2 separate regions of the Homo sapiens genome follow, and region 2 is linked to region 1. The links are contacts of gene promoters, found by promoter capture Hi-C in human tissues and cell types (Jung and others, 2019). All regions are on one chromosome and are shown on one strand. Each heading gives the region's core, a stretch centred on a gene start or on the middle of the fragment in contact. The rest is flanking DNA. Distances are from core to core; before and after follow the strand shown.

Region 1 (7,197 bases), core at 4,469-6,968:
AGTAAATATTTTAGGCTTTGCTGGCTGTACAGGCTCTGTTGCAACTATTTAACTCTTGTTGTAGCTTGAAAGCCGCACTAGACAATACATAAATAAATAAGTGTGTCTGTGTTCCAATAAAACCTTATTTATGGACACTGAAATTTGAATTTCATATAGTTTTTGCATGTCACAAAATATTCTTCATCTTGTTTTGATTTTCCCCCTCACAATTTAAAAATGTAAAAATGATTTTTGCTCATAGGCAATACAAAAACAGGCAGAAGGCCAAATTTGGGCTGTAGTTTGCTAAGCTCTAGGGTAGAGAATGAATTGCAGCAGGCAAGAGAAGTTGTGGGAAGACTTGCCCAAGGCTATTGCAAGAATCAGAACAAAAATCTCGCTATTCCTGTACCTAGTAAAGAGAAAAGACAGCATGGTAAGCATTTATTAGGTACTATACCATTGAGTATCTATTATTCCCTAGGCACAATGTTAGGGCTAAAGATATACAAATAAATGAGTAAGAAATCGTTTTTGCCTTGCAGCTAGTTAGGGAGACAGATGTGGTTTTTTTCTGTCATGTTGTAAATACCACAACATGGTACTATGGAATATACATGAAATATTGATTAATTCTGTGTAAGAAACATCAAACATGGCCTTAAGAGTGACATTTAGCCAATGTAGTGGCTCATGCCTGTAAGCCGAACACTTTGGGAGGCTGAGGCAGGAGGATTGCTTTAGGCCAGGAGTTCTAGACCAGCCTGGGCAACACAGTGAGACACCATCTCTACAAAACATTTAAAAATTAGCCAGGCATGGTGATGCATGCTTGTAATCACAGCTACTTGGGAGGCTGAGGTGGGAGGATGGCTTGATCTCAGCAGTTTGAGGTTACAGTGAGCTATAATCATGCCACTGCACTCCAACCTCAGTAACAGTGTAAGACCTTGTTTCTTAAAAAAAAAAAAAGACATTTAGGCATTTAGGTAGGAACTTGAAAGGCGAATAAAAGTTTACCATATAGGGTAAGGTGGAGGGAGGGGAAGGTTTTTAAAGCAGAGGGAAAAGTATAAATGGATGCAAAGAGGCTTGATACACAAGCTTCTGCCCCATTTTTCTTTCAGATTACTGCTAACTTGAGGGGAATGTAGGAGATAACTGAATAAATCCGTAGGTTAAGGAAACTGTAAAAATGGAGTATCTCTGGTTTCAAGAGGGAGGATAATTGGTGGAATATTAAATGATTCTACATGACCTGGGCACTGGCTACATCTTCCACCTCTCTTACCACTCCCCTCCTTGTTCACTCTGCCCTGGGCACACTGATCTTTTTGCCATGTCTTTGAGATGCCAAGCACAAGGCTGCCTCAAGCTCTTTGTCCTTGCTGTTCCCACTGCCCAGAGTCTGATTCCCTCCCTCCCCTCATTCCTCAGAGGCTTTCTCTGGCCAGCCTATCTAAAACAGGTGCTATTCTCTTAGATTTACCTAGTTGCTATTTTTTTCGTAGCATTTATTATTACCTTATTCATGTGTTTGTTATCTAGCTCCTCCCAACTAGAATATAAGCTCCATGAAGGCAAGTCTCTTCTCTGTTACCTCTAAAGTCTAGAACAGGGCCTGGCAAAATACAGCCACACGAGTATTAGTAAAAGAGATAAACAAAAGGAGTGGGGAGAGGGTAGAGAAGAACCCAGATGAGTTGGAGGTGAAGGGAATAGGTATTGCAGGAGTGCAATCTCAATAGTCTCTGTTTCATTGGCTGAGTAAGATGGGAATTCATCTTCTGAGAGGAGAGAGGGACTCAAAGTTTGGGACATCTGTGGAAGATGAGAACGAGTAACACAGGGAGAAAGTTGGGAACTTAAACATTTGAATTCAAACCAAATAGATAATTAATTGTACTGTGCCAAGGGGTGGGGTGAGAGCCAAAAGAGAAGATAGCTCCTCCCCGCTCAGAATGTGGCATTTTGACTTATCTTTCTTGGAGTTGAGTAGAGAATTATAGGGTGGGGAGAACCAAACAGAGGCTCTTGAAAGAATAAGCAGGTGAGGGTGGGAGCGGAGAGAAATTGAAACTTGGTAGAAAACAACCCTTCTGAGAGCCATGTTTGAGTGGTACAGAATCTGAGAGAATGAAACCAAAGCACAGACAAGGGTTCTTTGGTTTCACGCTTCTATGATTAAAAAAAAAAAAGTCCTCAACATACCTGCTATTTGGCAGCTGGGAATTCTCAATTGGCTAGAAGTGAGTTTCAGGACATATTGCCAATTGCTGTCCCTTTTCTCCTCCCTTCCCTTGGGCAGGGCATTTGTGTAAACAGACAGTAACGAAATAGAACTGGACTGTCTTATTCCAATTCTTCTCTCCTTGCTTCCATTTCTATTGTAATTATTTTATTAATAAGCTAGGGCTGCCAGCACTCATACTAAGTATAATTTACTATTGTGTACAACCAGTTTTAGGGTGGTAATGAGACACGGTTTTTTGGTGAGAACTGGAAGGTTAGTGACCAATATCCAGAATTCTTTTCCTGGATGACTGTGGATCATAATATCTTCAGCTGTTTTGGGGACTTCTTTGTCTGCAAAAAAATAAAAAAAAACCCCAGTGGAATATGAAGTAGGTTTTTTGGTGTAAAATAGTCCCTTTATGAACTGCAGTTTACCAAAAAGAATTGTTGCTTCCCAGAACTACCATTCAACCCAGGAATCCCGTTATTGAGTGCATACCCAGAGGAATATAAATCATTCTACCATAAAGACACATGCATGTGAATGTTCATTGTAGCACTATTCACAATAGCAAAGACATTGAGTCAACCTAAATATCCATCAATAACAGACTGGATAAAGAAAATGTGCTACATATACACCATGGAATACTATGCAGCCATAAAAAATATCAAGATCATGTCTTTTGTGGGAACATGAATGGAAGTGGAGGCTATTATCCTTAGCAAGCTAACGTAGGAACAGAAAACCCAATACTGCATGTTCTCACTTAGAAGAGGGAGCTAAATGATGAGAACTCATGAATGCAAAGAAGGGAACAACAGACAGTAGGGCCTACTTGAGGGTGGAGGGTGAGCGGAAGGAGTGGAGCAGAAAAGATAACTATTGGGTACTGGGCTTCATACCTGGGTGATGAAATAATCTGTACAACAAACCCCTGTGACACGAGTTTGCCTATGTAACAAACCTGCATATGTAGCCCCAAACCTAAAAGTTAAAAGAAAAAAGAATTATTGCTTCCCACAAACGTGCTAAATTTCAGTATTAGGGTTTCTTTTATTATTAAGATTCTGAAAGTTAACATGTTCCCAATTGATCTCCTCTTTTCTGTAACTTGGTCCACTCATGGTCTTCTCCATTTTGGTTTGTGGCAACTTCCATCTTTTGGGACAAAAATTTGGGCTTCTTTCTCTCATATTCCACATCTAATCTGTCAGGAAATTCTGTGGGTTTGGACTTGAAAATATATCCAAAACCTGACCACTATTTGCCATAGACGCTGTTATCGCCTTTGAGCAAGCCACTTCCATCTTTTGCTTGGCTTATCACAAGAGTTTCTTACTGTTCTCTGTTGACTTTCAGTTTTCCACAGCAGCTCTTAAAATATGTCAGCTGACATCACTCTTCTGTTCAAAACCTTTCCATAACTCCCCATTTCACTCAGAGCAAAGGTAAAGTCCTTAGAATAGCCTACAAGGCCCTCCTTGTCTGGCCCTTCATATCACTCCATCTCATCTCCTACTACTCTCCCCTCATCGTCTGCTCCAGCTATCTTAGCCTCCTTGATGGTCCCAGAATTTGCCAGGCAGGCTCCCATATCAGGCCTTAGCGTTGGCTGTTCCCTCTGCCTGGAAATCTTCCTTCATATTTGTGGAGTTCACACCCTCATTTCCTTCAAGACTGTGCTCACACACCGCCTTTTCAGTGAGGCTTACCTTGACCACCATATTTAAAGTTGCACCTGTACACCTTATCCCCTTCTCTTACCTTATTCTATTTTTTTCACAATAACTACACTTGTCTTTTGAACTTTTTGTTCATTGATGTATCCCTAGGACTTAGAAGAATATCTACCAAGTGGCAGGTATTTAATAAATATTTACTGAATGAGGGATGAATTTATTTTGCTTAACTCAGTATAACCCTCTTAAGAAAACAAGACTATAAACCAGATTTTTTGAGAACGTTAAATTCTTTTTTTTTTTTTCAGATGGAGTTTCACTCTCGTTGCCCAGGCTGAAGTGCAGTGGGGTGATCTCTGCTCATTGCAACCTCCGCTTCCCAGGTTCAAGAGATTCTCCTGCCTCAGCCTCCCGAGTAGCTGGCATTACAGGCATGCGCCACCATGCCCGGCTAATTTTTATATTTTTAGTAGAGACAAGGGTTTCACCACGTGGCCAGGCTGGTCTCGAACTCCTGACCTCAGGTGATCTGCCCGCCTCGGCCTCCCAAAGTGCTGGGATTACAGGCGTGAGCCACTGCGCCCGGGCGAGAACGTTAAATTCTAGTTGAATTAACCGTAATTTAGTATTTCCAGATACAGTATCTGGGATGGTGCAATAGGGAGTTCGATGGAGATTCTGGTAAGGGATATGGTGGGCTAAGAAAGAATTGTCTGTTCTTGATACTAGATAAACCCAGGGGATTTACCCCACTTCAGGTTCTAGAATCATGTATAAAGGCAGAGAAAAGTGATTCTGAGTGAACTTGCACTGACAACTTACTAGAACAAAGCTTCCTGGAGTTAGGGTTCCCGCAGTATGTGTCTCTCTGGAAGGTGGAATAAAAGCCTGAACCCGCTCTGCTACTCTTTGGAAGGCAGCCCTGCCATTTCCCTAGGCCTTGGCCTCCCTCCCTGGAAAAGGATGGTATCCACCGGCTCCCCGTATCGGAGGCTGTTTGCAGGGTGTTCCCAGCACCCCCCAGGGAAGCTCCTCAGAATGCTGCCTGACACATTTTTACAAAATTTATTTTTATTGTGGTAAAACATACACAACATAAAAGTTATCCCTTTATCCAGTTTGCGGTGTACGTTTGTTAACCTTACAGCAAGTAACACATGAGTTTTAAATTAGAATTTGGACAACGGCAAATGAGATGAAAGGCGAACAATCCGAAAGCCGGATCACTGAGGAGCTCTGGGAACGCGCCGCGAGCTGAAGCCACACGGGGAACTCCATTTTGTCGGGACAGGGTCGGTCCTGGCCGCCTCCAGGGAGTCGGGTAGTTTCCGCGGCGTGGCCCGGGCCTCCCCTGAAGTCCGTCCGCCTCTCTCCGCCTGGCCCAGCGGCGCGGCCGCCGGAGGACTCTGTCCACGCGCCCAACGTCGGGCGCCCTGTTCTGAAGGCAAAGGGTCCCCTGCCTCGCACGACTCGGAGCCGCCGAGGAGGTGACGGCGGCAGCCCTGGGGCGGCTCGGTGCCATTCACTACCATCCTGTTTTCCTGAGGCGCGGCCTTCCAATTGCCCCGGCTCCGCTAGGAGGCGCGCGCTCCAGCCGCTCCGCCGCGCGGCCCCGACCGCACTTCAGTCCGGGGCGAAGAAAGAAAAGGCGGCCGGCTCCCGCCGCTCCCCGTCTACCCAGCCGGGCCCGCGCAGGCGCGCGCAGCTCCCGTTCCCGCGGCCGCCCCTCCCCCAGGCCGCCGGGCGCGCCGCGGGCGGGGTCGGCGCGGGGGGCGGAGCCGGCACGGGCTCGGCTGGGGCCCGACCCGGGATTAGTTGGTTTCGGAGCGGAGGAGGGAGCCCCGACCGTCACGAGCGTCGAAGAGACAAAGCCGCGTCAGGGGGCCCGGCCGGGGCGGGGGAGCCCGGGGCTTGTTGGTGCCCCAGCCCGCGCGGAGGGCCCTTCGGACCCGCGCGCCGCCGCTGCCGCCGCCGCCGCCTCGCAACAGGTCCGGGCGGCCTCGCTCTCCGCTCCCCTCCCCCGCATCCGCGACCCTCCGGGGCACCTCAGCTCGGCCGGGGCCGCAGTCTGGCCACCCGCTTCCATGCGGTTCGGGTCCAAGATGATGCCGGTAAGTGGGCGAGCGGCCAGGGCGTCGGGCCCGGAAGTGTGCGGGGTCGCGTGCCGGGGGCTGGTCCGCGCCCTCGGGCGCGTCGGGGAAGGAGCCTGGGGGCCGCAGCCCGCGCGGAGGGGCCGGGGCTTTCCGAGCTTCGAGCGGGTTTCAGGAAGGGGAGGCTCCATCCTCTGGGCTCTGCGCCCACAGCCGTCGTGGGGGCGCGGCGAGACCCTAACCTCGAGGCGGGTTCCTCCAGCTGCTCCGGAGTCAGGCGAGCCGCCCGCGAGCCCAGCAGCCACTCAAACTTTTCGTCTTTCACTGGGTCTTGACTTTTTTGCAGTTCTTGAAGGTCAAGAATACGGGAACCGGGGACCTTGTTCTTTGCTGTGTCTTTTTACTTTTTACTGGAGTGAAACATACGTTACTGGAACGGGTACCTTTGCTTTGTTTTTAATTGAATTTCGATCTTGATATCCACAGTAGCAGCTAAGTCACCCTTACCTCTTTGTGGAAAGGGGTTTTGGTAAATGCAATCTCGGAAGTTTTAGATTGCAGGAAAGCGTACGTGCCTGGCTCCCTTCGTTTCCCACAGCTTTTAGCAAGACCTCCGGAGAGGATTAGTGCCTTCTTTAGGAGCTCCGCAGGCTTTTGACACGGCCACCAGGCCACAGATGAACAGCAGGTTTGAGACATTTCAGAAATGTCTCTGTCATTCAGCGATCGCGGAATGGAGGTTTGCGGTGTGTTGCGGTGGCTTCTGCAGACTTCAGTAGCGAGTTTCTTCGTGGAAGTTGTATTTGCACCTCTCCCACTGAAGTGGGGACATCTTGCAGGCATCCTATGCTTGTGGCTCCATTTGTTCAGACAAAGAAACAAAAAGCTTTTACTTTTATGAAGTCTGTGGAATGGAGTGATGACAAAGTTTGCAGTCATACATACAGAGTATAATATGCTGTTCCCTGGCCCCCTGCTTGTGTCATGGAGGGCGTCCCAAACTCTCACTGGGTCGACTTAACAATTCACTAGAATTAGTAATTGGGTTTAGAGGGTTTGGGATATTTTGTCCTGCCAGGATTCAAGGAATTTGAAAGTATTAATAGCATTATGCATCTTATTTTAGTTTAATGCCTGGTTATGAAATCAGGTTTGTAGTGTGAATACCCAATATTGAAATAATGGACCATAGATAAGGGTGATGGAT
Region 2 (7,114 bases), core at 1,977-4,476, 56 kb before region 1:
AAGGATTAGCTGCCTGATACTCCTTGCTTGCTGCCTGCAATAAATTCCTCAACTTCTGTCTCAGCAATGCCGATATCAGTGCTTGACTTTGATAGGCTGGGTGGGTGGACCCAAATTTGGTTTGGTGACCCTTTGAGCTTCGATTCAAAATTCTAGTTTTGTCACTCTGCAGTTTTGTGATCTTGAGCAAGTTACTTAACCTCTCTGAGCCTTGTTTGTCTTGTGTAATGAAAAGAGCTATACTTACCTTGTGAGGTAGTCCTCAGGATTCAATGAGATAATAAGTACTCACTAAACAAAACTCGTTATTACAAAAGAATCACTTTGTCTCTGAAGTGGGCAATTCAACCCATTTCTAGGAGATTTTAAACATGATTTTAGATATTTGGTGTGATTTTGTGAATGGGTTTATCGTTAATAGCTTTCATGCTCCAGAATTTTCTTGAATAATAGGTTTTTGCAAAGTGCATTCTGTGGAATACTCATTTGGGTGACGTTAATAGACATCACTCAAAAGCTGGGTGAATATTACAATGTTTACTTCATCTGTAACAAGCTGAGTAGCTACAGTACATATCTAAGAGGGGGCTCTAATTCTCAATATTTTCCAAATTTATTAGATCACAGACTTTTAGTGAAGTGCTTAATGAAACTTAAGTTCTGTGAAAAGTACTTTGAGAAATATTGCTTTAAAAAGAAAAAGATTGAGCCTTGTATCAGGGGAAAAATCTAATATTATATTAAACAAAAAAGTCCCACTGAAGAAAATAATCTTATTGTTCATAGACCTTAGTTTAGGTATTGGGGCCAAAGGATGGATGACCATTTCAAATGATCCAGGCTAAGCCAGCCTGGAGGAGAGCTCAAAGTCTGATCTGGTGAGTAAGTTGTGAAGGGAATATGATGAAAAAGTGCACTTCTATTGCAAAGAAATCATGAGCTAGGTTTATATGCTATGCTGTGAATGGCCAATAGATTATAAATTCAACAGTCTCCCTGTCACAGCTATGGTAATGACAACTGTTTAGGCCTTAGGGGAGCTTTAGGGAGAGGCAATTTCATACTTAAGTCACACTGACTTAAAAAGTGAAATATTTGAAATCATTGTTGAAATCACGTGGAGGTTGTCAGCAAGCAGGTGAGGTTGGAATGCCTATCATTTTCCTCAAGCTCACGTCCTCTCATTTTCTTATTTGAAAATCTATTTGGCTCAGAAAGTACACCTAGGGTTAGTTAAAAATCACCTCCTTATGTTCCTTTTAAAGGAAGCTTCCAAGTTATTTGAATAGCTTCCAAGTTATTCATCGAGAAACAAAGCAAATTCAAAGATTATGTCCGTAGGCACAGACTGGATTTTAAGAAATCCTGGCTGCATAAACAATTGTCTTATAGAAAAGAATTTCTGTTCCTCTTTTCCCTCCCCTTGTCAATCCTATTTGTTTCAGACCTGGGTTCAAACACTAGCTGTAGAGGCTATAAGCTATTGGAAGCACATTTGAGCCTGAAATAAACTGAACCTCTTTTGCCTTGGTTTTCTCACTTATAAATGGGGATTTTTATGCCTACCTCAAAGGTACATTGCAAGGATCGAGGGACAGAAAGTGCAGCAAGTGGCCAATGAATAGAAGTCTGGTTTTCTGAGCATCCTTGCAGCTGCAGGCTTCAGTCTACCAGAGAATGTGAGGTGTTATTCTTCTAGGGCAGTGGTTAGAAAAGAAAATGAAAGTAGCAGTACTCTTTTCCTAATGCAACCATAGATGGATGACCAGAATTTGTAATCCATAAGGTAGAAGCTGCTGTGCCTGAGGAAATAGAAAGTGGGCAGAGGTGGAGGGGCAAGGTAGGGAGTGGAGTGGAAGGTAGGGAGAGTTTGATCCTAGCCTGCACTGCTCCTCAGAGGTACTTTAGCCCCTTTGGAACAGTATTAGAAAATCATGGCTCTATCAACTCATGTCTGAAAATCAATTGCTATTTCAGAGCAGGAGGTGACCAATCTTGGAAATAAGGAAGGGAGAGAGGCAGCCAAGCCAGCAGCTCCTAGGATTAGTTACTGCCTGGAGCCAGCTCTTGGAAGTTCCCCAGGAGCTGTCCAGTCTTATGTCATGTCTAGTCAGCAGAGTCCCAAAGAAGCTTGTCATTCTCTAGGCATTTGTGCTTACATTCTGATGGGCCTAATAGCAGGGAGATGACATGGAGCCCAGGCAGAACAGCTGAGATTTCTACTGGTCGTGACCTCCATCTTCTCCTTCATACCTTTCCTACCTTTCTTTTTCCATGCATTCAACAGACATTTATTACCCAATAAGTGCCAGATAGTAAGCCAGGACCTGGGGAGAGCAGATGAGTAAGACACCGTCTCTGTCCCTCAGGAACTCTCAGATTCTTAGGGACACATGTACATCCTAATAAACACAGTGCATCTCATGAATGTGTAAGTTTAAATTATTGATATAGGCACACACAGACAGAGGGACTTCATTCCTTGCAGGTTCTGTAGTATTTCATGCCCACTCTCCTGTCTTCCCTTGCTGCTCACATCATCCTTCCTTCAAGGAATTTGGGGGGATGGTAGACTGAAAGTGGCCCTTTCTGCATAATTCTTCTTGAAAATAAACATTTGCTCTCTTCTTAGAGGCTGACTATACTGAGAGCTACCACTCCTTGGTTGCTTATTAGCCATTGGGTTATTTCTAAGCCCTTTACATATGTTATATCATTTAATTGTATTGAATCTTCACCATAACACTTCAATGGAAATATTTTTCCAAATAAGGAAAGGTGAGACTCAAAGTAGTTGTATTAGTCTGCATTGCTATGAAGAACTACCTGAAACCGGGTAACTTATAAAGAAAAGAGGTGGGCCGGGCATGGTGGCTCATGCCTATAATCCTAGCACTTTGGGATGCTGAGGTGGGCAGACCACGAGGTCGGGAGTTAGAGACCAGCCTGACCAACATGGTGAAACCCTGTGTCTACTAAACACACACACACACACACACACACACAAATTAGTTGGGTGTGGTGGTGCACACCTGTAATCCTAGCTACTCAGGAGGCTGAGGCAGGAGGATTGCTTGAACCCTGGAGGTGGAGGTTGCAGTGAGCCAAGATCACACCACTGCACTCCAGCCTGAGTGACAGTGAGACTCCATCTCAAAAAAAAAAAAAAAAAAAAAAGAAAGATGTTTAATTGACTCTCAGTTCCACAGGCCATACAGGAAGCATGGCTTGGGAGGCCTCAGGAAACTGACAGTCATGGCAGAAGGTGAAGGGGAAGGAGGCACGTCTTACTTGGCTGGAGAAGGAGGAAGAGAGCTAAAGCGGGAGTGCTGTACACTTTTAAACAACCAGATCTCATGAGCACTCTATGATGAGACAGCACTGGGGGATAGTGCTAAACCATTAGAAACCACCCCCATGATCCAATCACCTCCCATCAGGCTCCACCTCCAACACTGGGGATTACAATTCAACATGAGATTTGGGTGGGGACACAGAGCCAAACCATGTCAGTAGCAAAGAGATTTTCCCACACAGCTAAAAAAAAAAAAAAAAAAAAATGGCAGAATCTGGATGTGTGCTTAGGTTTGTCTGATTCCCGGTACACTCCCCTATGCCATTTCTGATCTGCAAAGAACCTGATCCCAATATGATCCTAGAGCCAAGAGATGAGGCGTGAAGTAGCCACCTACTTTGTGTGCTTTCAAATCAGATATGGCAAGATTCTTTGAAAAATCAGTCAACTGGATTAAGCAATGCCTAAGTATGAAAGGATCCTTAGAGGAACTAAACCATTTCTTCATTTTGTTCCATGTTCTTTCTGTGGCTCTACCAAGTTTGTAGGTTAAGAGCAAGGCATCAAAGCTTACTGAGTTTTTCTTCGACACTGAATTGACTCGTTGTCTCAAGAACAGGGAGTCATTGCCCTAGTCTCATCTCATAACATTTACATTTCTTTCTTTCGACTAATGGAGATGGTGCTCCCTGCTCTCTCTAGGAGACCACAGGACCTAGATGATAACCTGCATCCCTAATCCTAAAGGGAGCCTAAGAGCAGTAATGATGGCCCTCTATTTGCAATAGATTACACTTTTCCCATATAAAGCTCTTAGAACTGTCACTGTGAATGATGTGCTGATTGGAGATAATGGTGACAATGATAATTTTATAATTGCACTTTGTACTTCTCATCTCCTCCTGGAATCACAAAAGAATTTGTACATATCCCTTACTCAAAATAGATCCATTAAACTATTATAAGATAAAAAGGCTACAGATAAAATGCTGCCCATTGAGGCCCAGAGGGGAGAGATCCAAGTGGACTTAGAAATCCCCAGCCCAGTGCGGTGGCTCATGCTTGTAATCCCAGCACTTTGGGAGGCCAAGGCGGGCGGAATACCCTGAGGTCAGGAGTTTGAGACCAGCCTGGCCAACACGGTGAAACCCTGTCTCTACTAAAAATACAAAAATTAGCTGGGTGTGGTGGTGGGCGCCTGTAATCCCAGCTACTCGGGAGGCTGAGGCAGGAGAATCACTTGAACCCAGGAGGCAGAGGTTGCAGTGAGCAGAGATCATGCCACTGCACTCCAGCCTAGGCGACAGAGTGAGACTCTGTCTCAAAAAAAAAAAAAAAAAAAAAAAAATCCCCATATCCCCATTCACTGTCCTTTTCTTCAGAAAATACCCCATTTCATATAACTGTCTAAACAATGGTTTAAGGTCTACACAAGATTGTGAAGTGAACCTGCAGGATTAGGAGGGTAAGGATTCCCACCTAGGTGGGCTCACTTGCTCTGCCATACCTGGGTAGGATCCCAGCCCGCTTCTGTGATTGTCAGGAGGCACCAAAAAGGCTATCCTAGGTTTTCTGTCATTCGGCCCAATCATTTCCTCTGCTGGGCAAATGTGGAAGAGGCATTAAGCTGGTGCTCCCACAACTGAAAGGAAAGCAATTCTCTTTCTGTTGTGGTTCCTTCCTCTTTGGACTCTTTTCTTCCATTCCAGCCTATCCCCTTCTTGGAAAAGCTATTCTACCAATAGGAGGGAAGAAACAGCCCTGTGTACCTGATGTGCTACCCTGGGCACAGGCGATCGGACCAGGGATAGACACCTGAACTGATCTGGGCAGATGCCCTCTTCTGGCCATTGAGAATTGACAGCATCAGACATCTAGAACATAATAGTATTTTAAAATTCTGCAGGGACATCCACCAGGCTGAGGGGGACCAATTTTGTTTTAAACATGTATCCTGAACTTGGCCAGGCATGGTGGCTCATGCCTGTAATCGCAGCACTTTGAGAGGCCAAGGTGGGCAGATCACTTGAGGTCAGGAGTTTGAGACCAGCCTGGCCAACGTGGTGAAATCCTGTGTCTACTAAAAAATACAAAAATTAGCCAGGCGTGGTGGTGTGTACCTGTAATCCCAGCTGCTGGGAAGGCTGAGGCAGGAGAATTGCTTGGACCGGGGAGGTGGAGGTTGCAGTGAGGTGAGATCACGCCACTGCATTCCAGCCTGGCCAACAAGAGCAAAATTCCATCTCAAAAAAAAAACAGTATCCCAAACTCGGAAGTAAAAATAGGATGACTGCACGTCTTTCTAATGCCATACTGGAAGGTTGCCTAACAAACCACCAAAGCTTTTTTTAACTCTCTAAGGGAATGTACTTTTGTTTGACTTACTATTTACTATTGATTAGGGCCCAGACTCTGCCAAGTTACATGTTAATTTTTGTCTGGTAGAGATACAAATGATTTTTGTCCTGTAAAAAGATTTTATTGCTCTACAGGACATTAACGAGTGAGGTTTCCAAATTAGCAAACTTATGTCAGCATGCTGTTTCTGATGGTCTATCCAAATCTTTCTCCTTCCAATTCTCTTTTCAAACAGCTTTACCATCTTCTGGTTCTTTCTTTTGTGAAGTATATAGATCTTTATACACACTCCCTATAGACTTATATAAGAATCATATTTTCACTTTTTGAAAATGATGCTTTGACAATTCCACTGAACAGGCTGGGGAAAATTTTATGAGAATTGTTGGATCCTGCTCACAAGCAAAAAGATAAAACCAGGCTATCCTCTATCATGGCTGATCTGGGGTTCATTCCCAGAAATGAGGGTCTTGGATCAGGGTCAAATATGTGGGTGGGGTGGGCTCAATTGCTGAGATACCCATCTCATGAGGAAGGATGGGACCCATATTATGGGAAACAAAACAGGAAGAATGAGAGTGAAAAGATTAATCCTTTCACTAAATTGGGAAAACAGGAGAAAGTGTTGTTGGATAAAGAAGGAACTTTAGCACAATGTGCAGAGACAAGACGGTAAATGTTCCTTATCCAGTAATCTCTGATGAAAGGCCAGTGCTCACATCATTAGTAATGTCCAGAACTAATAATATCAGTAGTAGCAATACTCACAATGTAAATAAGTAGCTCTCATGTTTTGATTGCCAATAGTGCTAGCAACCTTACATGTATCACTCTCTACCCCAGCCCTGTTAATTGGTACTATGATGAAGAAAGAGACTCGAAGAAAATAAATGACTCACTCGCGTATTTTTACACAGCTAGAATTGCTACAGAAAGGATTAAAGCCAAGTCTATCCAACTCCACAGTCTATGTCCCTCCCTCCCTCCCTCCCTCCCTTCCTTCCTTCCTTCCTTGCTCCTTCCTTCCCTCCCTTTCTGCCTCCCTCCCTTTCTGCCTCCCTCCCTCTCTCCCTCCCTCCCTCCCTATCTCAAACATCTATTGAGTGTCTACCATGTGCCAGGCACTGTGTCAGGCTCTTGGGATACAGAAATAAGCCAAGTCCTTGCTTTCAGGGAGTTTACATTCCAGTGAGAGGGACACAGAAACAAATGTATCTCTACGGCAGCAAGTGCTATGAAGAAAATCAGCTTCATTTTTATTGTTTCACGCCCATCATGCAGGTTTCCCAAAGTCCATCATCCCCACTCTACCCCCCACCCAATGTAGTGCTATCCTCTGTCCTGGAGAATCAGAAGGACTTCACAGCAACATCTGCAGTCCCTTTGTTTCAGTGACTTTGGCACAGAGAAGCGGACACAGTGGCAGACAAAGCTGCTGGAAGCTGTCAGGCTACTGGCAGC

The links. Contacts are between HindIII fragments. The study calls those that stand out against the background at their distance.
Region 2: a contact is called between a fragment that was not itself captured here and the fragment with the promoter of TP53BP2 in region 1, in 1 of the 25 tissues and cell types used here (aorta).

The regions. Positions count from the first base shown.
Region 1 is chr1:223,844,468-223,851,664 of GRCh38, reverse strand. It overlaps TP53BP2 (tumor protein p53 binding protein 2), which reads left to right and starts at 5,718. Exons shown (of 18, transcript NM_001031685.3): 1 at 5,718-6,011. The coding sequence starts at 5,985. RefSeq lists a silencer at 5,581-5,890. The HindIII fragment of the contact is 6,657 bases long and covers 2,910-7,197 here.
Region 2 is chr1:223,898,363-223,905,476 of GRCh38, reverse strand. No RefSeq gene overlaps it. Among named protein-coding and RNA genes, the nearest start is that of TP53BP2, 56 kb to the right of the region's middle. The HindIII fragment of the contact is 3,051 bases long and covers 1,701-4,751 here.